2 separate regions of the Homo sapiens genome follow, and region 1 is linked to region 2. The links are contacts of gene promoters, found by promoter capture Hi-C in human tissues and cell types (Jung and others, 2019). All regions are on one chromosome and are shown on one strand. Each heading gives the region's core, a stretch centred on a gene start or on the middle of the fragment in contact. The rest is flanking DNA. Distances are from core to core; before and after follow the strand shown. Region 1 holds the start of KIFC3 (kinesin family member C3). Region 2 holds the start of MMP15 (matrix metallopeptidase 15).

Region 1 (7,183 bases), core at 1,793-4,292, 220 kb after region 2:
ATGGTATGGTGGCTCATGCAAATAATCCCAGCACTTTGGGAGGCTGAAGCAGGATGATCGCTTGAGGCTAAGATTCTGAGACCAACCAGGGCGACAGAGCTAGACCCCGACTCCACACAATATTCTTTTTAAAAAACTGAGTCATGCTGGGCACGGTGGCTCATGCCTGCAATCCCAACATTTTGGGAGGCCGAGGCAGGGGGATCACTTGAGGTCAGGAGTTCGAAACCAGCCTGTCCAACATGGTGAAACCCTGTCTCTACCAAAAATATAAAAAATTAGCTGGGTGTGGTGGTGTGCGCCTGTAATCCCACTGCACTCCAGCTTGGGTGACAGAGCGAGCCCCCGTCTCAAAAAAAAAAAAAAAAATTGAGTCAGGCACAGTGATTCACATCTTCACATCTGTAATCCCAGGACTTTGGAAAGCCAAGGTAGAAGGATCCCTTGAGCCCAGGAGTTTGAGACCAGCCTGGGCAACATAGTGAGACACCCCCATCTCTACTTAAAAAAAAAAAAAATTAGCTAGGCACACTGGTGTGTGCCTGTAGTCCCAGCTACTCAGGAGGCTCAGGTGGGAGGATCACTTGATCCCAGGAGTTCGGGGCTATAGTGAGCTATGATTGCATCACTGCACTCCAGCCTGGGCAACAGATCAAGATCTTGTCTCAAAAATGCAACAACCATGAAACAAGTAGTTTTTACGTTTCAAATCGGAGTTTTGCTAGAATTCCAAAAATACAACCTCCTTACACTTCAATTTCCTTTTTCCTTCGCTGGTGCTTTGATCTTAATAAGTTGTTATACCCATATGCATCTGATAGTACTGTGTGAGTACCTATTGGAGTCATAGCTCTATCACACACTGCATTTGTGAACAAACTTTCTGAGGCTCAGTTTCCTTTCCTGAAACACGGGTGTCCTGAAACAGTACTGGTGTTCATAGGGTGTTCAGGGTTAAATGGGATTTTGTTTATAAAGAGCTTAGTGCTGTGCCTGACACAGTGTTAGCTTCAATAATGGCATCTATTATGTACACAGGAAAAAAAAAGACTTCTAAAGTGTTGGCAGCATTTATCTCCAGTGTGTGGGATATGGTTACAATGAACATCTATTACTTTTGTAATCAAAGCAAAAGAACAATAAATGTTATTATTAATTTAAAAATCTGGCTTTGGCTTTGGTGGGAAGGACCTACAGTTAATGTCAATGTACTCAATCCCTGAGTAAGAAAAAGTCTCCAGTTTTGAACCAGGACTTTAAAGACATTCTGTCCTCCCCATCCCCCGCCCCATCAACTCATAGGGACTATAATCAAGGGAGATAGATACTAAATCAGAATTCTAGAGACATTTTGCCTTCATCCACCCTTGCGGTCCCCTGGATCACTGCTGTTTGGAGGGCAGGCAGAGGAATTCAGAGATCATAACTCCCCAAATAAGGCTTTCTCTCCCATTGGAAGGGTTCTCCAGTGTGGTGTTCAGCTGGAAATCTAACTCTCTAGGGAATGATTCCAGGAGCGTTACATTCACCCTCTATCAGGCCTTCACTGAGGAATCTCAGTTGTCAAATAAAGCATGCACTAGGCTGCTTCCAGCTGGGGGACTGTGACTGTCCTGCTCTGGCGTCCAGAACAATCTGAGGCCCAGGCCCTTGGCTCCGTCGCTGGTCGAGATTCTTGACTGGCAGCCCAGCGCCTGGGCGGCAGCAGGAGATAGAACCCACCTGGAGTTGCCCGACCCCCTCCAGTCCTCTCCTTGATCTTCTTGGGCCATCCCCTGACAAGCAGGAAGGGACAGAGTACCCGCCCTCCTGGGATTATCTGCAGAACCGTCAGCCTGCATGGGCTGGCTTCAGAGTGACTTGCTTTCTCCTCTTCCGCACCCGGGGGTGTGGAGAGTGAGGGAGAATATTGCTGCTGGCTCTGGAATAAAATGCTGCCTCTGTTTGGGAGACAAAGAACAGAGTGGCTCCTCCAGGTCAGCTGTCTCTCCCGGCTGGCAGGCCCCTGGCCTCCCCCAGGCCTCTTCTGAGGCTCTAGGTGCCCCAGTAGCAGGGCCTTCTGCAGCAAGGCCGGGAACTGCTGCACCATTGGTGTGTTTTACCTTAAGGGACTCCAGGCAGCTTCCTTGCTGGGAAGATATTCATTTGCTGGGGTGGGGCTGGGGGTGCAGAGGTAGGAAGTGCTGTGGCTAGAAGGCGGCCTGGCCAGCGAGTAGGTGGTGGAGCGAGTGAGAGCGTGTGCGCTGTAAACAGTGTGAGTGCATGTGCGCCAGCGCGTGCAAGGACACGGTAAGGGATGTACATGTATTGTCTCGTGAGTAAGAGCTTGTGTGTGTGTTGGGATGGGAAGACACGTACTGGTATGAGAGCCCGCGTGAGAAGTGTATGTGTGAGTACTCGCGTGGAAGTTTTGCACTCGGGTTTGAGGCTGTGCAAAAGTACGCATGGCTCACCAGGTGTGGGGCTGTGTGGGCTGCCTCGTGTGTGCCAGCCCGTGTGCAGGCCTGTTTTGTGAGAGCCTTCAGGGAACGCATGAGCACGTGTGCCAGTGCGAGTGCGGGACGCGGGGAGGCGGGAGAGACCGAGTGGGAGGCCCCGCGAAGGAGTGGGAGTGGGAGTGGGAGTGCCGGCGGGAGACCTGCGGGGGCGCGCCCGGGCTGACGCGTGCGCGCCAGTGCGCGTGAGTGCGGGCGCGCGCCGCCGCCCCCCGCCGGGGTCGGAGCCGGTTGCCATGGGAACGCGCCGCGGCCCGAGTTAATCATTTCCTGTGGAAAGTGTGCGGGAGGGGCGCGAGCGGGCTGGCCGAGGAGGAGGCGGCGGCGTGGAGCTGCCTCCTGCCGGCGGGCCGGGCCGGGCCGAGCCCCGGGCGCTGCGGCGACGCCTGGATCCTGCCTCCGCCAGGCCGGTGAGTGGGGGGCCCGGGCGGGCTGGGTGCGAGCGGGGCGCTGGGCTCTGCCCGGCCCGCCGTTTGGGGCGCCGCGTCCGGGCCGGCCCTGCCCTCGGGACCCCTCTGCCCGGACCCGCTATGGGCGCGGGGAGGGAAAGGCCCGGGAGACCCAGCCCTGCGAGGTCCCCTCCAGCGCCGTTCAGCCCGAGTCGAGGACCTTGCTGGGAGCTGGGCACAGGGGCGGCGTGTCCCACGGGATCCGAGCAGCCTCGGGACCCCGTTTGGATTTTATTGAACGAGAAGAGCGCAGACCCTACCCGGGATGGGCTTGTCAATCGGCGCCGCCCTCTCCCCTTCCTGGCGTCTTCCCCACCCCCAGGGCTCCCTGGAAGGCTGCCTTTGGGTCCCTCCCACCACGTCCCTTGGGGAGTTCGCTTTTTCCCTGGCAGGGCCTGGGGCGGGGTGCGCCCGCCCAGAGGTTAGGAAGAAGGGCCTTGGCCGGTGCCCTCCGGGCAGTGAGGAATCGGGCCATTGACAGCCGCAGCAGTTGTGAGGGTCTCAGCAGGGAGGGCGATCCCAGGACCACCCCTTTAAGCCCAGCATTGCTAGTTAGAGCAGAACTCTGGCTGGTGCAGTGAAGGGCCTGGTCCTGGGAGATATTAAAGAGGAAGCTGTGTTTAATTAAATTCTGGAGTACCATTTACTGCCACCCAGCCCCCACCTCCATACCCCAACACTGTCTCAAGATTGCGGGTTGTGGCCACCCCTGGTCTTTCACCTTCCCCGGCTTTTCCTCTGCCTGAACAGGGTGAGCACCCATTCTTTCCCAGACGTGTATTCCCCATGCCCTTGTTAGAGTAGCCGTCTCCTTGACCAGGGAGAGTCATTTGCTAGGAATGCAGTCTCAGAATGGGGCCCTGCATTTGCAGTGAGTGGACTTTAGGGGCACAGGGTGGTGAGTTCTGCTGTTCACAGGGGCACCAGGGAGCAGAGGGTTTGAAATCTAGGTTGCCCTGGAAAGCCCAGGATAGATGATGGTGTGCAGGGAGGTGGCATTCCCTGTACAACTTCCTTGACCTTCTGCCTGCTCTCCCAGGGCGACCAAGCCCTGCTTGCTGCAGTCTCTGAGCAGCTGTCCAGCCTGTCCCCCCAGTCTTTGCAATGTCCCTGATCTAGGGCAGGGGGAGTATTGCAGCTCTGCTGTCCTGGTCTAAACCCAGAGAGGCAGAGACCCTCTTCCCCAGCCAGGCCCTCTGCATTCACCCACCACTGGAGCAAAGTAACTGAAAAATAAAATTTTGGAGCTCTTTGTATATGCCAGTATTGTTCTGAACACTTGGCCTTGTCTAATCTTTAGAGCAACCCTATAAGGTGGTGTTCTCCCCATTTTATAGATGGAGATAATGAAGTACGGAGAGGCAAAGTAATTCTCCCAAGGTCAGACATCTAGTAAACAGGGGAGCCAGGTTCTGAACCAGTCCCACTGCCCTCCCCCACGAATCCTAGGTTGGTAGAAGTCCCCGGACACCAGGTTTCATCTCAGATGCCCATGTAAATGAGAGAGAGTCCTGCTTTCTTGGCCCAGAACCCTGGGCTTAAGATTCCTTGATACTTTTGACCTTCACACCCCTGAGGCTGCTAAATTCAGCTGCTTTTTCCTCTTCGGGATCTAGCACACGCCCTTCCTCTTTCTTCCCGATATCTTCCTGGCTGCCTCCTCCACTTCCCTTCCTGATAACCGCAGAAACGCTATCTCCTCCTGTCCCTGCCCCTCAGACTGAGCTGAGCTGATCTCCCTGAAAGTCTTCTCTGTCCACTGTGGAGTCAGCCTCCAATGCCCTGCACTGTCTCACCTTCCCAGCAGCCGAGACTGCAGATGGACCTGCCTTGCTCCTTCCCTTGCCCATTGGACAGCTGGTCTGCAGGGTTGGTTGTGTGCCCAGCTCTGTGCCAGGCAGCCTGGAGAAGAGGACATTTGGCTGCTCCCCTTGGTTTCTTCCACGCCACACTGGTCCATCTCAGTTTCCTCAGTGGAGCTGGCCCACGTATTTAGATCAGCCTCTGCCCTGTCCTTTGGCCCACATTCCCATCCCCTTCCCAGTAAGACTGAACCTAGGAGCCTCCTAGTTGTTCTAAGTCAAGGAAGGAAGAGACCATGGCTTCCTCGCCAGGTGCCTGGCATTCTTCCAGGGTTGGGCTCTGCAAACATCAGACACCAGATCTTCAGGCCCCTAACCCCTGGACCCTTTACTTTATTATTTATTTATTTATTTATTTTTGCCTCTCAATGCTTTAGTCACTCCTGTCTCTCTGTCTCCCCAATATGCTCAACTCTCCCCCTATTCTAGACACCACATCCTCTCCTTCCCATCCTAGCCAAACACCCCCAAGGAGAAGGAAGTGGCTGCTTCCTCCCCCAGCTCCCGCCCCACTCTTTGAGCCCTCCGAAGTTTGCCATCTGCCCTTCTCCCTCCACAGGCTCAGGCTTTCTGCCTGTCTGGGCTTTCAGTCCTCCACGTCTCTTTGGCATGATGCACTGGGCACTGACCAACCTCTCCTTCCCACTTACACTTCAGTCACTTCTGAAAACTCTATACTTGCCTGGAGCTCCTGTCCCTCTCTCAGCTTCCTTCTGCAGCTTTCCACCCCGCAGTGAGCCCTGTTATCACATGGCTGTCTCCTCTTGCTCAAGCTTTGATGATTGCCTCCTCACCTGTGGCGTTGGTGGCCCTGTTTAGCTCTGAGTCTGTGTCCAGCCCTGACCTCTCTTCCAGGCTTCAGTTCAAGCTTTTGTGTGTGTTCATTTCAGAACGTTCACCCCACAAGCCATCCCAGAGTTCTTAGTGTGGGTGCAGCTGCAGACTGGGTGCAGTGGGGCTGCAAACATGAATGTGTGTGGGCCCATAGTGGGTCAGGGGAGGTGGACACCCTTCAAATAGCTATCTTCACTTCCTGGCAGGAAGTGGCCACTGCAGTGACGGATGGGGAGAGTAGTCGACAGCCCAGGAAGCTCCACTAGGAAGTCCTTCAGTTACCCCCACCTCAATCTTAAAACCCCATGTTGCCTCTCCAAGCTGACTTCGCTTCTTCTGTAAATGACATTACTGTCTGAGTCTGGGACTGTAGCATGATCACCTTAAATGTCCTCAAGGTTGCTTTGCACACAGTAGGTGCTCAATAAAGACTTCTGCAGGGAATACCTGAGCTCTGTTCATTTGTTCAGTTCATGAGGGACCTATCCCTGACTGAAGCTTTCTATCCCTGACCAATGCTCTCTGCCCCCCTCCATTCCCCACACCACCTGGTGCCTGGCTCGCACCTGCCGCCTCCAGTAGCCTGCTCAGACTGTGAGGGTTTTTTTGAAGTGTTTATCTCCCTTCTGACTGGGAGTTTTCAGGCCTCATCTCTTCTGATCCAAAAGGACCCCTGGCAGATGCCTGGCACCCAGTAGGCATTATTAAATGAAGACTGAATGAATCTTTGTATCTCAACACCCATACGGTGCCTGCCACATGCTAGGCACAGAGCGCAGGCTAGTCGAATACATGAATGAGAACTTACTGTATATAGACTTCACTTGTCATTGGCCACAGTCAGGGCCCTTTTGAGTCCCTCCTCAGTGAAATGTTAATATTCAGAGCATTCACTGCTCTGCTGACAGGCCTTAGGCAGAGCAGCCTGAAGCCTAAGGGTTAAGCATGTGGTTAAGTGCAATTAGAAAATTAGATGTCTTGGAGGAAAAGGATTAGACTTACGGAGATGCTGCTGACTCGCGGTGCCTCCTCTGTGTGGGGCTAGGACCTGGCTTGTCCTCAGGCTCCAGGCTCAGCTGGGAAGGGCTCAGGTGTGGGGTCTCAGGCACAGCTGATATGCAACTTTCGCACTTCGGAGCCTCCGTATTCGGAAACAAATACCCCCAAAAGGCAGCAGGCCCCATTTCATCCTGCGAGCCCTAGGGTCTTTGGGGGACAGTGCAGTTGGAGCTGCTGCGCTGGGTAACCAGCGACCGGTGGGGCGTAGACCCTTCCAGATGGCTGGCTCTGCCCGAGGTGCAGTTGTGCTGGTCCACGGTCTTCAAGCTTATCTCCCCTTGTTCTCTCCGCAGGCTGCCTGGTGCCCCGAGGAGGCTGCTGAGCCCCAGGCCATGGTCCCCTCTCGCAGGACGTGGAACCTGGGAGCCACGCCCTCGCTGCGGGGCCTGTGGAGAGTGGGCCGGGCCCCGGAGCCCGAGCCGGGGATGGCTCGCCCCGCCCCAGCCCCAGCCAGCCCGGCCGCCCGCCCTTTCCCACACACCGG
Region 2 (7,722 bases), core at 2,715-5,214:
GTTCAGAGGTCACAATGGGAAGGTCAGGCCAATACACTGCTCAGACAAGGAGCTTACACTGGGCTGTTCTCTGCAAGGAGACAGATGACTGGCTGGACCCAAGGGCAGCCCCAACTCGGAAACATGGCAAGGGCTGGGTGTGAAGGGCATGGCCCAATGAGATCTAGGTCCCTGGCTGTGCCAATCAGACCAGTTCTCTCTGGGTCTTGACAGAGCATGGAGAGGAGTGATTTACTACTAGCAAGAAAACAGAGTAAAAAGCAGAGACAAGAGGGGAGGGGGAGAAGATTCAGCTTCTGCAGATTCCCAATGACAAGGCCCCGCTATTAACTCCCTTTTCTTAGCTGGTGGGCACAGATGGCATCTGTAGTTTTGCTCTGTTTAAAAGAAAGAGGGGACCAGTGGGGCCCCCCCGGAGCCAGCATGGAAGTGCTAGTAGAGACTGAAGCTAAGGAAGCCCAAGACTGTGGCTCACCTGAAGGTCAAAATGGTAATTCACGCTGACCCCCTCCCAACGCCCCCACCCCCGCTGCCTCATCTACTCAGTGGCTGGGTAGGGGCTAGGAAGATACTCGTGGGCCTGTTGAGGAAAGGCGGGTGGATCGGTTTTGGTGGTGGTGGCACCACCCCTGTGAACTCTGGCAGCCTGAGTCACCTCCACAGAGCAGGCTGAGGACCTGAATTGTGCCTGGGAGGAGGGGGTAGGGGGAGGCAGGTGAGATAAGAGCTCCCCCGGTGAGCCTGGAGACTCTCAGCCCTGCAGGGCAGGAACAACAGTGAGCACCTCAGCCAGGTGGGGATCTGGCCCGGAATGGCTACAGACTGGGATTGGACATCCAAGGGAGAATGTGGGATAGGACGTGGCAGCTCAGTGGTGGGCTAGGGCCTGGCAGGTTGCAGGTGTTTGTCAGTTCCTAGCACATGCCAGGCTCCTTGATGTCTCAGCCTCGTGAAAGTCCTGTGGCTTCCACCCTGGGAGGGGAGAGAGGAAGTGGAGAGAGGCTGGCCTTGGCTCAGCTGCCAAGCTGCTCCGAGAAGGTCCCAGCTGTGACCCTACTGGAGGCCTGAGGCTGTGTGGATGCTGGGGTGAGGATGAGAGAGCCAGCCTTCTCCAAGGAAGGGAGGCTCAACACAGGGTGTAGGCCAGGCCCAGGAGTCTGAGGCCACAGCCCCCGGCAGATGGGCTGGCTGCTGAGGCCATTTGACTCTTTGGGCCCACATGTGGCCAGACCTGATGGGACCCTAGAAGCAGCCTGTACCCAAAGCCAACTGTAGGAGCTGGGACACTCCACCTGTCTCTAGCCCTCTATCTGCATGGCTGCCAACATTCAAGGCTCCTTAAACCTTCCGGGGTCTCTTCCAGTCACTGCCCAGGTCCAACCCAAGTGTTTCCCCAGGAGTAGGGCTCCAGGACAGTCACAACCTCCAGATCAGGAGCACGGTTTGTGATAACGCAACCATGGCTTCTTCCCTGGCGGCATCGAGCTGTGGGCACTCCCTGAGCTGGGGAGTTGGGGTAGGGGTGAGATGGAACTGGAAAAGCAGAAGAGAGAGAGAGTGAAGCCCCTCCAACTACAGGTCCCTGCACCCCTGAGCTCCTGGCCAGCTAGGATGCCATTAGCAATGCACGGCCATTGAATTCCATCACTGCTTCCTATGTATTGACGCCATCCCTAAGTAGATTAGAAACTCAATGGTGGGACTGTGACTTGAAATTCTTTGGCACTCCAGCCCAGAGTGGCAGGTGGGCCCAAATGGCACTCTCCGCCCAGTACTTGGGTCACAGGCTGAGGGGTAATCCTCACCAACAGGAGCCCCCTAAAGCTCCTCCTGCCTGTGTGAATGGGGTGGGGGAGGGTGGCCAGACTGGGTCGGGGCGGGGCTCCTATCCTGCCTCCCACCAGGGCCTGGCTCCTCCTTCAGCTCTCCCTGGCCAGGCCAGGGAGGGAGGGCAGAGCAGGTGGGGAAATGGCTGGGAGGTGTAACTCGAGCCCAGGAGGAATTCCCTGCCCTTCCTCTATGCTTTTATTAAAGTAGGGCGGGGAAGGGCAAGCTTCCATCGGAAAAATCTCCCAGGCAGCCCGGAGAGGTGGGAAAGCCGCCGTGGGCCAGGGAGGGAGCACCAGCTGAGCTGCAAATAGAAACGGCGCTCAGGCCCGCAGCCCGGGCAGCCCAAGGGCACCAAGGCCTGAGCACCGTTCAGAAGCGGCTCCGGGGTGGTTCTTTCTCCCTACTCCCCGCCCAAGTCCTCTCCCCGCCTATCTGGGGCAGGGCGCAGGTCTTAGAAGTCGGGGAAGAGTGGACCCTGCTCTTGCTCTGGGGCAAGAAAGCTGGCGCCTTCGGTGTCCTCGCTCGGGAGACACCATGGAGCTGGGGCGCTGGCTGGACTCGGCTCTACGCCGGGATGTCGCGCCTGGTCACCCGCGGGACCCATCCAGAGCGGGGCCCCGGGAGGGACGCCAAGCGGGCTCCTAGCGAAGAGAGGCGCGGGGTCCACCCTCTCGAATCCAGGGCTTCGACGTAGGGGCGCTGTTGGGAGGAAGCGCTGTGGGAGGCAGGGTCCGTCCTTAGGACCCCGCCCGGGCGTGCCTAGGCTTCCTCGCAAAAGCGCAGAAAGTCGCCAAAGCGCCCCCGCAACCCGAGTCCGCTGCCTCAGCCGTTTGCACCCATCCCCCCGCCTCCATCCTGGCCCGCCGTGCGCGGCTCGGTATCACCCAGACGGGAGGCCACCTGGGCAGGAGCGCAGTTGCCCAGCCGCCCAGCTCTTGCTCCGCCTGTGGCTGTCCCCGAGAGCAGCCCCCTCCCCACTCGCAAAGAGCGCCACTGCGCGCCAGCCGGGCTCTCGAGGAATCGGCTGCCCTGGAGGGAAGGAAGGAGGGGAGGCAAGGGCTGGGGGCGGCGGAAGCGGCTCCCGGGACACAGGCTGAATGTAAGGGGGTCGGGGTGGGGGCTCAGTGCCCAGAACAGGGCTGTAGGAGTAGCGGGGAGGAGAGCGAGGCCCTGCGCCCTCAAGGGTTTGCGAAGAGGTGCGCTGCAGAGGGCGAGCTGGGGAGGGGCAGACTGCCAAGTCCGCTTGCTTCCCCGCCACGGCCCAGAACAGGGGGCGCGTCTCCGCTCCCTCCACCTCCAAGTCCCAGCCTGCGGACGTGGCGCCTCTCCCTCCAAGCCCCCAGCCCGCAGCCAAAGGGCAGGGCGGGGGTCTTACCTCGGCATGGACCTCCGCGTCTTCGGCCGCTACGCCAAGGCCCAGGCAGCCCAGAAGCACCAGGAGCAGCGGCAGCAGTCGCGGCCGCGCCGCCTCCTCCCGGTCGCCGAGGAGGCTGCCCGTCCAGCCCGGCCGTCCGGGCGCGCTCGGGTCGCTGCCCATGCTCTCGGCGCCCAGCCCAGCTCGGAACACTGCACGCCGGATCCTCGCACGCGCCTTGGAAACTTGCGACGCTCCCTGGCTCCTGGCCCGGCAGGCGCGCCGCGGACCTCGGGCTCCCGGTCCCCGCCGGAGCCGCCTAGGTCGCCTCGGCAAATTCCCAAGCCCGAGGAGAAGCGGGCAGGGCAGGTCCGGGAGCTCGGAACCAGCCGGCGGGAAAGGGGGCCGACCGGAGCTGCCCCCGGCGAGGTTCCGCAGCCTCGGCGCCCAGCGCCTGGGGCCCGGCTCCCGAGAGCAAGCGCAACTCCGGAGCCTTTGTCTGGCTCAGCGCTCCGGCCGCCCGGTCCCGCGGCGCTCCCTGCGCGCCCAGCTCCCTCTGTCCATGCCCGGGGCCGGGCGCTGCCCGGAGCGCGCGCCTCCTGCACGGGGATTCTGCTCGCCGCCGCGCCCGACCGGGCCCGGGTCCCCAAGCAGTCCCGGGAGGAGGCGCAGGGAGCCGACCCGAGAGAGCGAGCGAGAGAGCAAGCGAGCCAGCCAAGGAGCGGGCGCCCGACGTCCCCGGCGAGTTCAGCGCGGCTCCGGGCGCTCCCAGCCCTCCTCCCCGCGCGCCGCGGCCGCCGCGCTCTTAAAGGGCCAGTGTGCTCCCAATGCGCGGACCCGGGCGGGGACCGGGGGCGGTGCCCCAGCCGCAGGCTTCTCACAAGCAGGTGCGGGCGGCCGAGGCCCGACAGGTGGGCGGTCCGTTTACGCTTCCCAGACGGCAGGAAACCTCTCCAGCCCACCCCGCGTCACTCCCAACCCAGCGCCTAGGGGGCGGGGGTGACCTCCAACGCGACCCCCCGCGGAGGGAGGAGGCAGGGAAGGCGTGGTCTCCCCGCCTGGGAAGAATGAAGACTCCTCCTTCTCATACCTGGTGGGGGATACCGAGGCCTAGGCGGACGGGAAGGAGGTCTTAGGGGAGGGATCAAAGAGTCGTTTTAGGCTTAAATATAAATATATATGTATATATGGATATTTGTCAGCCTGAAACCTCTTTTCAAAAGCCGCAGGGTGTCTCTGGCCATTGAATAACTTTCCTCAGTAGCAAAGTGAGGGTTTTGTGCGCGTCGAGGGCGCGTTGCGGCGGACAAGGGGCAGGTTTAGGAGGGACACGGTTCAAGTTCCGCGTCCGCCCCTTAGCTGCCGCTTGCACGTGGGCAAATTAATCTCTCCGAGCCTCCATGTTCTTATCGGGAACGTGGGGCAAAGAGTTGGGGTGAGGGCGAGGTAAGACTTCCGGCTCCTGGCCTGGCGCAATAGGTGCCCAAGCACTTTGGCCACTGGCTGGTGCGAGTGAAGTGCGACAGTGCGGCCGGAGTCGGCGCGGGGCGGGTGGACACACCTCCCCGCGAAGCTTAACGAGCTGGATTTCATTCTATTCCGGAAGCAGCTTGAGGTCGGGGCGGGGTGGATGCAGGAGGCCAGAGCTGGGAGGCCCGGGTCGAAGGTCCACCGAGACCCGGGGACCAGGCCAAGGGCAGCCCTGGCGCGGCGGACTGGCCGGCGTGGTCAGTGGGTGAGGGTTGCAGGCAGGAGGGCGGAGACCGAAGATAAGCTGTTCCTTATCTTCAGACCCGGAAATGGAAGCCGTCCTCACCTGAGGGCGGTTTTCTCTAGAGCAGGCCCTCGGGGCACCCTAGCCGGCCTCACCTCCCGGAAACTGGAAATCAGGAGACCTGGCAGAGTGCCTTAGAGAGGGCGCGTTTGAACCCTCCTGGGATGTCCTTGGGGAAAGGAAGTCGGAGTTTAGAGAAAGGAACCGGGCGATTCTATCATTTCCACGGACTCACTTCTCTGTGGGATCCTTCATCTGGGAAGTTGGTTTCTAAATTCTCCACTTCGAAATTTGCTTTTGGGAAATGTGCAGTGGTCTTCAGACACGGACAACGGGGTTGTCCTTGTTTAACCGACCACGTCGCACTCTTTCATGATATTTAGTCCCGATTAGCCAATTTTAAAAAGTTTGGGGCTAGGTAAAGTGGCTCAAGCCTGTAATCCCAGCACTTTGGGAGACCGAAGTGGGAGGATTGCTTTAGCCCAGGAGTTCAAGACCAGCCTGGGCAACATGACAAGACCCCATCTGTACAAAGAATACAAAAATTAGCCAGGTGTGGTGGTGTACGTCTGTAGGCCCAGCTACTTGGGAGGCTGAGTTGGGAGGATCACTTGAACCCAGGAGGTTGAGGATGCAGTGAGCTATGATCATGCCGCTGCCCTTCAACCCGGCTGTCAGAGCGAGACACTGTCTCAGAAAAAAAGAAAAAAAAAGTTGGGGTTTAAGGGGCTAGCTGTTAGTGAGAGGAGCCCAGGAATGAGTGGAGCAACGTTCTTTGAGGCCTGGGTCGGTCAAGTCTGGTGATTTTCTCTCTGTTGGAGGTTCCTCTCTTGGGGTCCAATCCTGCCTTAAGGAAATGACATCCCCTGTGACCAGATCTTGAAGCTCCCAATTATTGGTTCTGGCTCCTATAGGTACTTTGGGAGTCCAAGGTGGATTTGCATCTACATCCAACCCAAGATAGCTGGGTTTCTACTGGGTCTGGACAGCACCCAAAGCCCGAAAGGACTAGTCAGTGGGACTGAGATGTGTGAACTGCAGCCCTTCCATCAAGTAGCTTTAAACCTTATCCATATTTTGCCAATACCGTTTCATCTATGCCCTGACACCCCCGCCCACCACCACACACCTTTTTTTTCTTGGTCTTTTGAATGAAAGCCCAGACATGGTGTTTCAGAGCAGTTTCATTTAGAGGTCCCGATGTGGTGTGAGGGATTGTAAAAAGCTCTGGATCAGAAGCCAGGTCCCTGGGTTTTTGCCTCAGCTGTAATTTACTGGGCAATCCGAGCAAGTTATTCCCCTCTTTGGGTTTGTTTCCTCATTTGCAAAAGGAGAGTTCTGAGGTCGTAGGGGAGGTCTCCTGTTCAGTGAAGGAAAGTAGCTGTGGGATGGAACTAGGCCCAGGACACCCCCTCCCCCAGCTCTCCCCTCCAGGGGCCCCTCGGGCGATGCACCCACCCGACCCACCATCAAAGGTGAAGCAGGCCTTGGGACTCTTCGTGCCAAGACAAGGAATAAACAAACAAGCCAAGGTAATTTCCCTCTCCCTTGGAAACAAAGCTGGGGTGGTCTGGAGAGGCGCTGGAGAGTGCCAGGTGGAAATCAGCCAAACAGGCGTGAGATGATTTCCCTGCCCTGCGGGGAACATCTGAGGACACCGAGGCCAGATGTGTTGATTTTGTACTCTCCCTGGTGCGATAAAATCCTCATCAAGAGCATTTCTTTGGGCCAGCCTCCCTGGGGGGGACCGCAGCCTTCTCTGGTCTTCCCTCTGTCTCCAGAATTGTCTCCCATGTTTCTCCTCTTATGGAGAATCTCCTGTTATGGAAGAGCCCCGGCTGCTTCTGCACTGTCAGCGGGAGCGCTCGCTCAACGGGCTTACTCTGCTCCAGAGGCACACTCAGTGTCTGGGTGCCCGCCAAGCTCCTGCCGCCAGCCTCCTCCTCAGGCCCAGCCTGCCCACCCCTCCCCCTCAGCGAGACTCCTGCTTCCTTCCTCCATTGCCACCTTCCATTCTCCATTGAGGAGCCAGTTATTGATCTTGGCCCATTTCTCAAAGTTGCTGCACTCAAATTCCATCCTCAGCACAGACAGACTCCCCAGCCACATCCTCCCCCAGGGGAATGGCCCAGTCCCTCTTCCTGGGCTTGTTGATGGAGGCCCTACCTCACACCTGCCCCCCTCCCAATAGGAGCCAGTACCCAAGTCTGGGGAAGTACCATGTTGAGGATGGGGATTCTTCTCTGTGCTCCCTGCCTGCTCAGCCCTGCTGTGAGCACCCAGAGGGTAGACCTAGTCTGGTTCACCAAGTGCCCAGTTCAGGGCCTGGCACAGGGCAGGTGTCAGTTAAGTGCAGGCTGCACAGCCGGAGTTGCCATGTTGCTTGCAAGCCAGAAAGTATGCCCGGCATCCTCCTCCTCTCCAGAAGAACCAGACTAATGATGAGTCGGAGTCAGCAGATCAATGCGGTGGGGAGCAGGAACAAGGCACAGAATGTGCCTGTGTCTTTCAGTGCAGTGGCTGGGAGGCTGCCCCTTTCAGGAAAGGTGGGGTTGCAGGGGCCACCATGGGAGCCTGGGCAACAGGCCCCTCTCCCCACACCTTTCCCTGAAGCCCTATGTCCCCACCCAGATGCCAGGCCTGACCACGAGGTGGTGTGCAGGGCTGGATCAGGGCCACCCCAGCACAGGACCTGAGGTTAGGGCTGAGTACGGCCCTATTTCTCATGCAAGCAAGTCACTTAACCTGTTCTTGTAACAGAGGA

Evidence for each region. The method cuts DNA at HindIII sites, captures the fragments that hold promoters and counts their contacts. A contact is called where the count stands out against the background at its distance.
Region 1: a contact is called between a fragment that was not itself captured here and the fragment with the promoter of MMP15 in region 2, in 1 of the 25 tissues and cell types used here (H1 embryonic stem cells).

The regions. Positions count from the first base shown.
Region 1 is chr16:57,798,092-57,805,274 of GRCh38, reverse strand. KIFC3 (kinesin family member C3) reads left to right here and starts at 2,784. Exons shown (of 20, transcript NM_001130100.2): 1 at 2,784-2,905; 2 at 6,993-7,183. The coding sequence starts at 7,032. RefSeq lists enhancers at 1,811-2,487, 3,165-3,841. The HindIII fragment of the contact is 7,020 bases long and covers 1-6,552 here.
Region 2 is chr16:58,021,996-58,029,717 of GRCh38, reverse strand. It overlaps MMP15 (matrix metallopeptidase 15), which reads right to left and starts at 3,964. Exons shown (of 10, transcript NM_002428.4): 1 at 3,206-3,964. The coding sequence starts at 3,367. RefSeq lists enhancers at 2,300-2,849, 3,400-3,949, 4,182-4,767, 4,768-5,355 and a silencer at 3,816-3,955. The HindIII fragment of the contact is 8,795 bases long and covers 1-7,615 here.